Linked DNA regions of Homo sapiens: all the other regions are linked to region 1. Evidence: promoter capture Hi-C in 16 types of primary human blood cells and fetal thymus (Javierre and others, 2016). All regions are on one chromosome and are shown on one strand. The core of a region is centred on a gene start or on the middle of the fragment in contact, and the rest is flanking DNA. Distances in the headings are between cores, read along the strand shown. Region 1 holds the start of OSGEP (O-sialoglycoprotein endopeptidase). Region 2 overlaps CHD8 (chromodomain helicase DNA binding protein 8). Region 3 overlaps METTL17 (methyltransferase like 17).

What was found. The method cuts DNA at HindIII sites, captures the fragments that hold promoters and counts their contacts. A CHiCAGO score of 5 or more calls a contact.
Region 2: a contact is called between a fragment that was not itself captured here and the fragment with the promoter of OSGEP in region 1, in 1 of 17 cell types (erythroblasts). The highest score is 5.3, in erythroblasts.
Region 3: a fragment that was not itself captured here is called in contact with the fragment with the promoter of OSGEP in region 1 in 1 of 17 cell types (naive CD4 T cells); the score reaches 5.1 in naive CD4 T cells.

What each region holds. Positions count from the first base shown.
Region 1 is chr14:20,453,315-20,456,333 of GRCh38, reverse strand. It overlaps OSGEP (O-sialoglycoprotein endopeptidase), which reads left to right and starts at 1,522. Exons shown (of 11, transcript NM_017807.4): 1 at 1,522-1,765. The coding sequence starts at 1,651. APEX1 (apurinic/apyrimidinic endodeoxyribonuclease 1) reads right to left here and starts at 1,108. Exons shown (of 5, transcript NM_001641.4): 1 at 940-1,108; 2 at 631-756; 3 at 233-420. The coding sequence starts at 688. RefSeq lists enhancers at 845-1,064, 1,485-1,574, cis regulatory regions at 1,126-1,131, 1,147-1,152, 1,165-1,197, 1,208-1,213, 1,210-1,251 and 2 more, promoters at 999-1,333, 998-1,535, 1,165-1,609 and a silencer at 2,872-3,019. The HindIII fragment of the contact is 3,687 bases long and covers 1,003-3,019 here.
Region 2 is chr14:21,434,906-21,437,924 of GRCh38, reverse strand. All of the region lies in intron 1 of CHD8 (chromodomain helicase DNA binding protein 8), which reads left to right. Among named protein-coding and RNA genes, the nearest start is that of CHD8, 20 kb to the left of the region's middle. RefSeq lists enhancers at 63-242, 273-432, 220-763. The HindIII fragment of the contact is 3,471 bases long and covers 1-3,019 here.
Region 3 is chr14:20,993,882-20,996,900 of GRCh38, reverse strand. It overlaps METTL17 (methyltransferase like 17), which reads right to left. Exons shown (of 14, transcript NM_022734.3): 7 at 2,838-2,932; 8 at 2,288-2,358; 9 at 2,000-2,107; 10 at 1,668-1,736; 11 at 950-1,000; 12 at 609-692; 13 at 190-374; 14 at 1-116. The coding sequence ends at 11. LOC101929718 (a long non-coding RNA gene) reads left to right here. Exons shown (of 4, transcript NR_110139.1): 3 at 1-69; 4 at 571-1,064. Among named protein-coding and RNA genes, the nearest start is that of SLC39A2, 3.9 kb to the left of the region's middle. RefSeq lists an enhancer at 1-772. The HindIII fragment of the contact is 5,148 bases long and covers 1-3,019 here.

The DNA.
Region 1 (3,019 bases), core at 273-2,772:
GAGGTTTTTGCAACATTCTGGGAAGAGGAGAGAACACTAAAAAAGAAAATGGCAATGGAAGTGAAGGAACAGACATTTAGGAAATACAACTGGCAAGACTGGGGAAGCCCCACAGAAAACTACGGGCAGGAGAAAAATAAAACAGCCTGAAGGCTAAACGGAGAAAAGGGGTGACTAAACCCTAAGACCATTCAATACTAAAAAATGTCTCTTTCCCTCAAATTCCACTCACATCTAATCCTTTCTTCTTAATCCAGGCTCGAAGCCCATCCACATTCCAAGAGCAGATCTTGAGTGTGGCAGGTTTGCCACTGGGTGAGGTTTTCTGATCTGGGGGGTCCTCATACAGGGCTGGGCCCTCTCCTGCTGCCTCTTTGTCATTTTTCTTTGCGGCCGTCTTACTCTTCTTGGCCTCTGGCTCTATAAAATGAGTAATATATACTGACAAAAAGCTGGTGGTTTCCAACTGCGATCCGGCGTTAACTATAGACCCAACGAAAGCCTACGGTTCCTGCGACTTCTTCACAAACCCCTGCAAAAATGAGTCGGCCCGTACTTACCGTACATCAAGGGAATGACAAACACCCCCGCCGCAGCTTCTAGGAAGAAGGGCTGATTTCATTCCCTTACCTGTCCTGAGCTCATCCCCGTCTTCCGCCACCGCTCCCTTTTTCCCACGCTTCGGCATTCCCGTTACGAACGCCCTTGGGCAGCTGTACCGCGTCACCCACCGAAGCAATATTTTTACCGCGTTGCCTACAGACGCAAAGAAATCATGAAACCAGCTAAGGCTGGGGAGAAGACTCCTCCCAAGAGCGTCCCCGCACCAGGTCCCGCCTTTCAAACCACGTTATCTCTAAATCCTTTCCCCGCCTCCGTGCATCATAGGCCCTTCAGCCCCTCACCCACGAAACTAGATCATTTCATAGTGCCTTGTACCCTACTCGCGAGATCTGCCCTCCAGCCAATTGAGGATCTTAATTAAGGGTCCTGACTCAAGCTTGCCGTTCAGACTGCCAGCGAAGCCCCTCTTATGAGCAAAAGAGCAACCCCGTATCTGCACCGGCCCGATGGCAGCCTAGCTCCTCCTAACCCGAGCACAAAGAAGGGTGCACGCTGAGCCCCCACGTGGGTAGCGGACCTGGTCACGTGATCAGAGGCGCGCTTGTCGTGGCCGAAGAATGCGCGTGATTGGTCTGTCTGACACCACGTGACGGAGACGCTTAGCCTCGCCTCCCTCCTCTAATTCTCTAGGACACTTAGGTCCCCAACCCTCCCTCGGGCTGTTTATCGTTGTGCCAGATGCACAGCACATTGTGTGACACTGACTTAAGATTCTAACTATGTGCAAGAGGGAAAAAAACAGTGGAGAAGGCTGGGCTGGACCACGGGAAAGAGATAGGAAAACGGATACGAATGTAAGGCACAGAGTTGGCTCGGCGTCCCTGGCAGTTAGGAAGACAGGTCCCTGGAGGGGCCTTGGCGGGTCTCCGCTCGCGGGAGTTCCGCGGTGTCTTTCCCAGTGCTATCTGCAGGCTGGCCAGCTTCCTCTGCGCTCCGGAAAGCTGCGGCCCAGCGCGGACTAGTGAGGACCTCCACAGCTCCTGACATTGCCAGGAGTCCTGTCGGCGTTTTCTCCCAGCCTCCGCCATGCCGGCGGTGCTGGGTTTTGAAGGCAGCGCCAATAAGATTGGCGTGGGCGTGGTGCGGGATGGCAAGGTGCTGGCGAACCCGCGGCGGACTTACGTCACGCCTCCTGGCACAGGTTGGTGAGTAGGGGACTTAAGAGTTTTCCGCGCACTTCCCCGCACAGAATCAGCCTTCCATCTTCCTAAATACTAGTGAGGTGCAGCTTTCGATCCGAGTCTCATTGAAATTATGTGACATTATTAACGTCACAAGGCTGATGACTAGAAGAGTTACAGGCACTTGGACGTGGATCTGATGAGTTCATTTACCTTTTACTGAGCGCATTTTATGTGCTAAGTATTCAGAAATAGATGTTATACTGCTGTGGAGTCAGACATATAAATAGATGTTTATACTACAGCATGATAAACAGTATAATAGAGATGGACTCGAAATATTCTGTTTAAAAAACGCTTAGCAGGAGTATAGATTCCAGTTGCCCTGAATATACACTCCCTTTTTAAAAAAAAATTATTTTTTGAAATATTCTAGGATGAGTAGAGAGATGAGAGTGGAAAGACTCCCGGCTTACATGTCAGACAGAACTGGCTGGCTTTGCTATATTCATATTAAATATTTTTGTTTTGGACATTTGGTCTTTATTTTTTATTTTATTTTATTTTTTTGAGACAGAGTCTTGCTCTGTCGCCCAGGCTGGAATGCAGTGGCACGATCTCGGCTCACTGCAATCTCTGCCTTCCAGGTTCAAGCGATTCTTCTACCCCAGCCTCCCAAGTAGCTAGGACTATAGGTGTGCGCCACCACATCCAGCTAAATTTTGTATTTTTAGTAGAGTCGGGGTTTCCACCAGGCCAAGCTGGTCTCGAACTCCTGACCTCAGATGATCCGCCCACCCCAGCCTCCCAAAGTGTGGAAATTACAGGCATGAGCCACCGCTCGGGCCTGGTCTTTGTTTTTAAAATGGGAATAATACCTGTATCATTAGGTCTTGAAGATTAGATGAAAGTACCAAACACGGCTGGGCGTGGTGGCTCACGCCTGTAATCCCAGCACTTTGGGAGGCCAAGGCAGGCAGATCACCTGAGGTCGGGGTTCGAGACCAGCCTGACCAACATGGAGAAACCATGTTTCCACTAAAAAATACAAAAAATTAACTGGGCGTGGTGGCGCATGCCTGTAAACCCAGCTACTTGGGAGGCTGAGGCAGGAGAATTGCGTGAACCCGGGAGACAGAGGTTGCAGTGAGCCGAGATGGTGCCATTGCACTCCAGCCTGGGCATCAAGAGTGAAACTCTGTCTCAAAAAAAAAAAAAGTACAAAACACATTACAACTTTTAATTGATATTTTAAATAAGCTATTATATCTTGC
Region 2 (3,019 bases), core at 373-2,872, 980 kb before region 1:
GAGAACAGGAAACCGAGTTTAGAGGGTGAGGAGTGTTTGTTTTGAGCGGGCTAAGGGTCGGGAATTGTTAGAGGGCCCCAGGAATTACTGTCTAAAAAGCCGTATTGGTATTGAAGGGTCACAGTGTCAAAAATGCACGGCAACCTTATGTGTTGTGGCAGAAAGAGTGCTTTAAAAGGCCCCATATTCCAGCTGGGCTGACTCCCACGATGGAGGGAAGAAGATTTGGCCCCTTTTATTAGGTAGTGGGATACGGTGTAGTCACTACAGGAGAGGGGTTGACAGGGCTGCTAGAAGGCCGGGGATTCAGAGGGAGGCGGAGCTGGCCTAGCGCGGAACCCTCCCTCCCAAGTTTATACTCTTCAGGGTGAAGAATTCAGAGTAGATGGTAGGGAATTTAATCTCCAGGACTGGTTTCGCGTACTATGAGACTGTTCCTCTGGCCAGCCCCCTTTTTTCAAGCAAGCTGCAGGCTTCGCCTCGGCCCTAGAAACCGGATAGGCCTCTCCGTGCGCTCTCAACCTAACCTGCGGGGGAGGGGGAAGGGAGCTCCTTATAGTCCCACCCTTTGCGCTGTTTTGCGTCTTTTCGCCTTTGGTGAGTGGCAGTGCGCTTCAGCCAATGATGGCGCGGGGCGGGCAGGAGCATCAGGTTAGGTTGCGCAGGAGGAGGGGGAACTGGTGCTGGAGAGACAGGGAGAGGGGCGAACCGGCCCCCCACAGCCACTGCAGGTAAAGCCACCTCTCTCCTCCACTGGGGTGAGGCACAGCTCGTTTTCTCCTTCAGGGCTTGTCGGGCCTCTCGGCCTGCAGCTTCCGCCCTAACATTGCTCCTATCCCGGGCATCCACACCCCCCACCCCCCGCATCTTCCCGTCTTGGCCATCCCCACCCTGGAGGGCACCCCCGCTAGCTCCTTACCTCAAGTGCATGTACCTCATTTCCATTTTGGGGTCTCCAGTTACCAGAAATCTTCCGCCTCTGCTGTATGGACCTTACTGGCACCAACCCCGGCAGTATGAGCAGGTAATGTACCCGGGTCCCCCCCACCCCCACCCCAGTCGCGTTTTCCTCTCCATCAACCCCTCACTTCCTCACCTCGCCCTTTCCCTTTTTTCATGAGTGCAGAATCTCTCTAGTTTCTTCTTTACCCCCTGAAAATACATGTCTTTAGCTGTCGTAGTTGCCTATTTTGCTTTTCCGATTTATTCACAAGGTCTTACTTTACCAGCCTTATATTCCCCCAAATGACCATACCCTTGATTGAGGTGTGAGTGCTTTCTCTTTCAGTAATTGGAAAACAGAAACAGAGTAGCCACACATTTGGCAGTGAGAATGGTGAAGACAGAGAAAATGGCCTAGGATCTTGATCTACTTAGGAAATCTGAGTGGCTCCAATTTGGTCCTATGTCTTTCCATCCTGATCCTTTGCTGACCCTAAATTGTGATTGCATTCACTTTGGATGTTTATTTTTCATTTCTGTATAAGATTTGAGACCCTTCGTGTCTCACGAATGTCTTCATGGTACAGTTTTAAAATACTTCTCTTTTAAAATTATGTTGGTGATTTTCATTTTAGCCCTTTGGATTATTTTATTTTCAAGGTATTTCTCATTTAAATTAAGCTGCTTCTACCCATCTTATGTTTCAGTAACATGTATTTATGTCTATCTGCAACTGATCTTCTTGAAAGGATACAGTTTCCAACAACAAGATTTGTTCTTTGAAGTAAATAAAATAGTTTATTCTTTTCTGAACCTTTGAGCAGCTAGAGGTTAAGTGGTCATGAGTGGTACTTTCTAAAAGTGCACATTACAGAAAGAGGTCAGCATGGCTCAATACTGCATTCGTTCATTGTCTTCTAAGAGGTTGTCACTACGGAGAAATCTATAAGTGGGCAATAGATATCTGTAGCTCATTTTACATAATTTTATCTATTAGACGACAGAACTAATCTCTTGCAGTGTTTCTCATCCATCATAAACAGTAAATGATGATAAACTCCTTTTGAGAGGCTATAGGAAATCTTATCCCATCCCAAAGATACTGGTAACTCTGCCAAGCCAGGAATGTTTCTTTCTCTGCCCTCTACTCCTCACGTGTCTTTTACAGATCTTCACTGGCCAAGAAGGCTTTGTCCAGTGTTAATAAATATAAATAGCCTAAACAATGAGATGTAGTTTTTTCACTTGATAAATATAAAATTATAATATTGAATACACCTTTAAGAACTGCACATTTATCTCCACCCTCGGTTCCCAGAAGCCCTTCTTAAGGGCCTTAGTCTCCATCCCCTGGTTGAGAATCACTGCTTTGTTGAAAGGTATGGAGAGATTGAGATGGAAAAATATAGGGTAGAATTAAAACAAAATACTTTATCATAGGACAGACAGTTTATTATAGAAATGGGCAAGGGTGAGGAATAATGTCAAATAAGAATGAGAGAGTTGGGACTCTAGATTTCCAAAAAAATCAAGAACTGTATTAAAGGTGGTAAAGCTGCAGAAGAACATCAGTTTGTACTTGTCTCAAGGGGAAGCAGTAGTTTCACCTTTAAGAAGGAGATGAAGTGAAGGGCTATACTGGCATATATAATAAAGTATTTTTCTACAGGTAACTGTATTGTTACTTGGCGATTATAGATAGATGGGCTTGGATTTTAACCTTAACTGACTAGTTTGTTACTTTTCCCTTCCACTGCCATCCCTCACCCCCTACATGCCCTCCAAGATTTCTGTCATGATTCTGGTCATTAGTTTGTAATTATGGAAAGTGACTAAGTACAACCACTAAGTTTTGTCTTTCCTTTTGAGCACATACATGTGTTTCTCTTTTGGGGACTGGTGGGCCAACACTGGCTTTTCATTCTTAATATGATAAAAGTTGGTGTGACTTCTTTATCTAGGCAGTTACTTTGCATTGAAACCAACTTAACATCTGTTCATTTTTGCTATTAGGGTTTGAATCAAGGAAAGAGAATTCATGAGATGGTTGAGAGGATTCATGAGATAGATGAGCTTG
Region 3 (3,019 bases), core at 149-2,648, 540 kb before region 1:
CACATCCTCATCAACTCTCAGAGGGATCCTGAGCCGTAGATGGAGGAAACGCAGACGGAGTAAGCACAGGTAAAAGATCTCCCCAGGAGCTGACACGGGCACAACGATACAAATCCCTGTGGAAACAGATGCTGGCGTGGGCTGCAGCTTCCTGCCACATCCCACTGATTTTGGTCACACCCCCCATACCTGCCGTGCCGGCGGGCTGTGAGCACAGCATGCTGCATGTGCCCATCTGGACAGCACAAGTGACAATGCACATGGCGAGGCCGTTTAAGGACAGGCTGAGTGATACGGGGCCAGCGATGAGCCTCCTCTGGAGACCCCCGAGCAAGGATCACCATAGAGAACTTTTCTTCCTTTGGTTTCTTGTTCTAAGATAAGGAACATAGAGACTGTTTAGAAGAAAAAGATATGGGAAAAAAGTTTGTACAGTCCCTTCTTCCCCATTCCTGCAGTCCTTTTTTACAATGTATAAATCATATACATGTAGGCCCTAAAGTCTCCAGGCTATTCTACAAATTATCCAACTCCTCCTAACTCTGATTCTTTTTCTTCCTGTTTTTCCAGGATGTTTGCTTCCTGCTGCAATATCCCCAGGTACCTACCCAGCTGAAGGGGATGGGATGGTACGCCTGTGAGAAGCTACAGGCCAGGTTGGTCAACTGGGGACAAGGGAGTTCATGGGGACACTGTGAACACATAAAAAAATGAGGTAAGACAAAAGAGCCATCAATCACAAAACTTAAAAACTGAGAATAATAGAGTCAAAAGGGGCCAGGGAGAAGGGAGGACAGGAGCAGTGGGTAGGAAGAGCCAGGGGAATCATTAGGTAGGAACTGGATAGGAACACAAAGTAGTGGAGAGTGGCTTAGCTTTACCATCTTACATTTCCCGGCCACGCCTAAGTTCAGATCCGTGTGGTGGGACAGGCAGAAGTAATACTCACCGGGGCAAAGACAAAACCAGGTCGAGGGTCCAAAGGTGACTTCTCTTTTCCCTGAAATCAAAGGAAATAAAAGAAATAAAGCTGGGCCAAGGGTCTATTTTCATAATTCAATCTCTGCACTCAGTAAACTGAGGACTCCTTTAACACTCAATTCTAATAACGATTGACTATGTCCTTTGAATTAAGCTGGCTGCATCTTTAATACTCCAAACAAAGAACTTTCTCTTTGCTGCAGGAGAAAGGCAAGAACTTGGCACATAGTACGGTGCTCTCCCTTGTCAGCAACCTCCACTCTCAAAAAAATCCCACTCCAGGACAATTAAATTTATGATTATACACTGGCTCATACTCTCCCCCAGTGACAAGGTTCTTAGCTCAGCAATGCCCTAGATTAGGAGTCCGCAAAGTTTCTTTTAAAGGGCCAGAGAGTAGGCAAAATCTATCTCTGTCCCAACTACTCAACTCTGCTGTTTGTAGTGTGAAAGCAGTCACAGACAACAGAGGCACAAATAAGCATGGCTTATATAAAAACAGGTGGCAGGTCGGATTTGATCCACAGGCTCTCATTTGCCAACCACTGCTCTGTATCATAATGACTTCATACGCCCAGTTTCCTGAGAGCCACCCTTGTCAATACATGACAGTCTCTTTCGTTTTCAAGAGAGTAACAGTAATTGGTGCCATATGGGTGGGGGAGTGAGGGAAGAAGAAGCCTTACCTTAAGGACCAGATCCCTGGCATCCATGAGAAGGCTGTGCCCAGCTTTTGTTCCATTCTCCACCAGTACCTGTTCACAAAAGGGGAAAATATGCAGAAGACTTGAATTACACGAAAGTATAAATGTCAGTAGCTGTGTAAGAGCAATCATAGAGGGAGAAGGAGTCCTAAAAAGAAATAGGCATTACATAATCAGGATGGAGACCCTCAAAGAGGGATAAAGAAACCCATGAAGGAGAAAAATGGTGAAGAATAAAGACAATGAGAGGAGCAAAGGCATGAAATCCATGAAGCTGCTTCAAGACTTAAGGAGAACAAGGAATTTTAACTCACCAGGAAATGACCTGTCTTACGCCATAAGGTTTGAACTACCTCAGTGCGGTCAGCCTTGCTGGGCAGTTCACTTAAGGAAAAAGCTGACACTACTACATCAAACTGCACCTGAGGACCAAGACAAGGAACATGACAGACTCAACATCTCTACATCCCAAGAATACAACAAAGTCCTAGCCGCTAAATTTCTTTTATCTTCTAACACTCAGTGCTGGGCTGCAAAGCTCAAGCCATAGTTTTCCATCTGCCACATTCCACATTTAGAATATTCTAAACACTGCCACTTGCCTTGGGTGATACAGGTAGAAACTGTCTGAAAAAGACACCTGGAATATAAGGCTCCCCAGATTCTGAACCACCTGTGGAGAAAAGAAGAGGCAACTGTGAGTGTGTAGGAAGTTAGGTATAAACTGAAGAGATATCCAGATAAGAAACATGGCCCCAAGAATAGGTAAAGTGTATATCAAAAAGGGCAGGGATGAGCCAGGTATGGCGGTGCGTGCCTGTAATCCCAGCTACCCTAGAGGCTGAAGTGGGAGGATGGCTTGAGGCCAGGAGTTTGAGACCAGCCTGGGTAACATATGGAGACCCTACCTCTAATTAAAAAAAAAAAAAAAAGGGCAGGGAGAATATTAGGCCTCCTGTCCTTTGATTCTTACCCAACCCATCCTCAGTCCAGCAGAAACCTCTAATACCACCCTTTGCTTGACTATAACTTTAAAAGTAAACCAGATTCATCTTAATTTTTACCCTCTTCTCTACTTCCCAGTAAAACACTTTTACTAGTACCCCTTTGCTTTCTTAACTCCCTCAACTTTGGAAGTGCTCTTGCACTCACCTTTCAGTAGTTTTTCTGCCAAAACCAACATGGCAGCTGATCTGTCCACACACATATATTCACGTAGGCTCTGGCCCCAAATACTGTGAGCAGCCCTAAGATGGCAAAATTATTATAAATCACCAATTCCCATGACCAAGAGTCATCTCTACAAGAGGCCCATTTACACCCAACCCCACCCC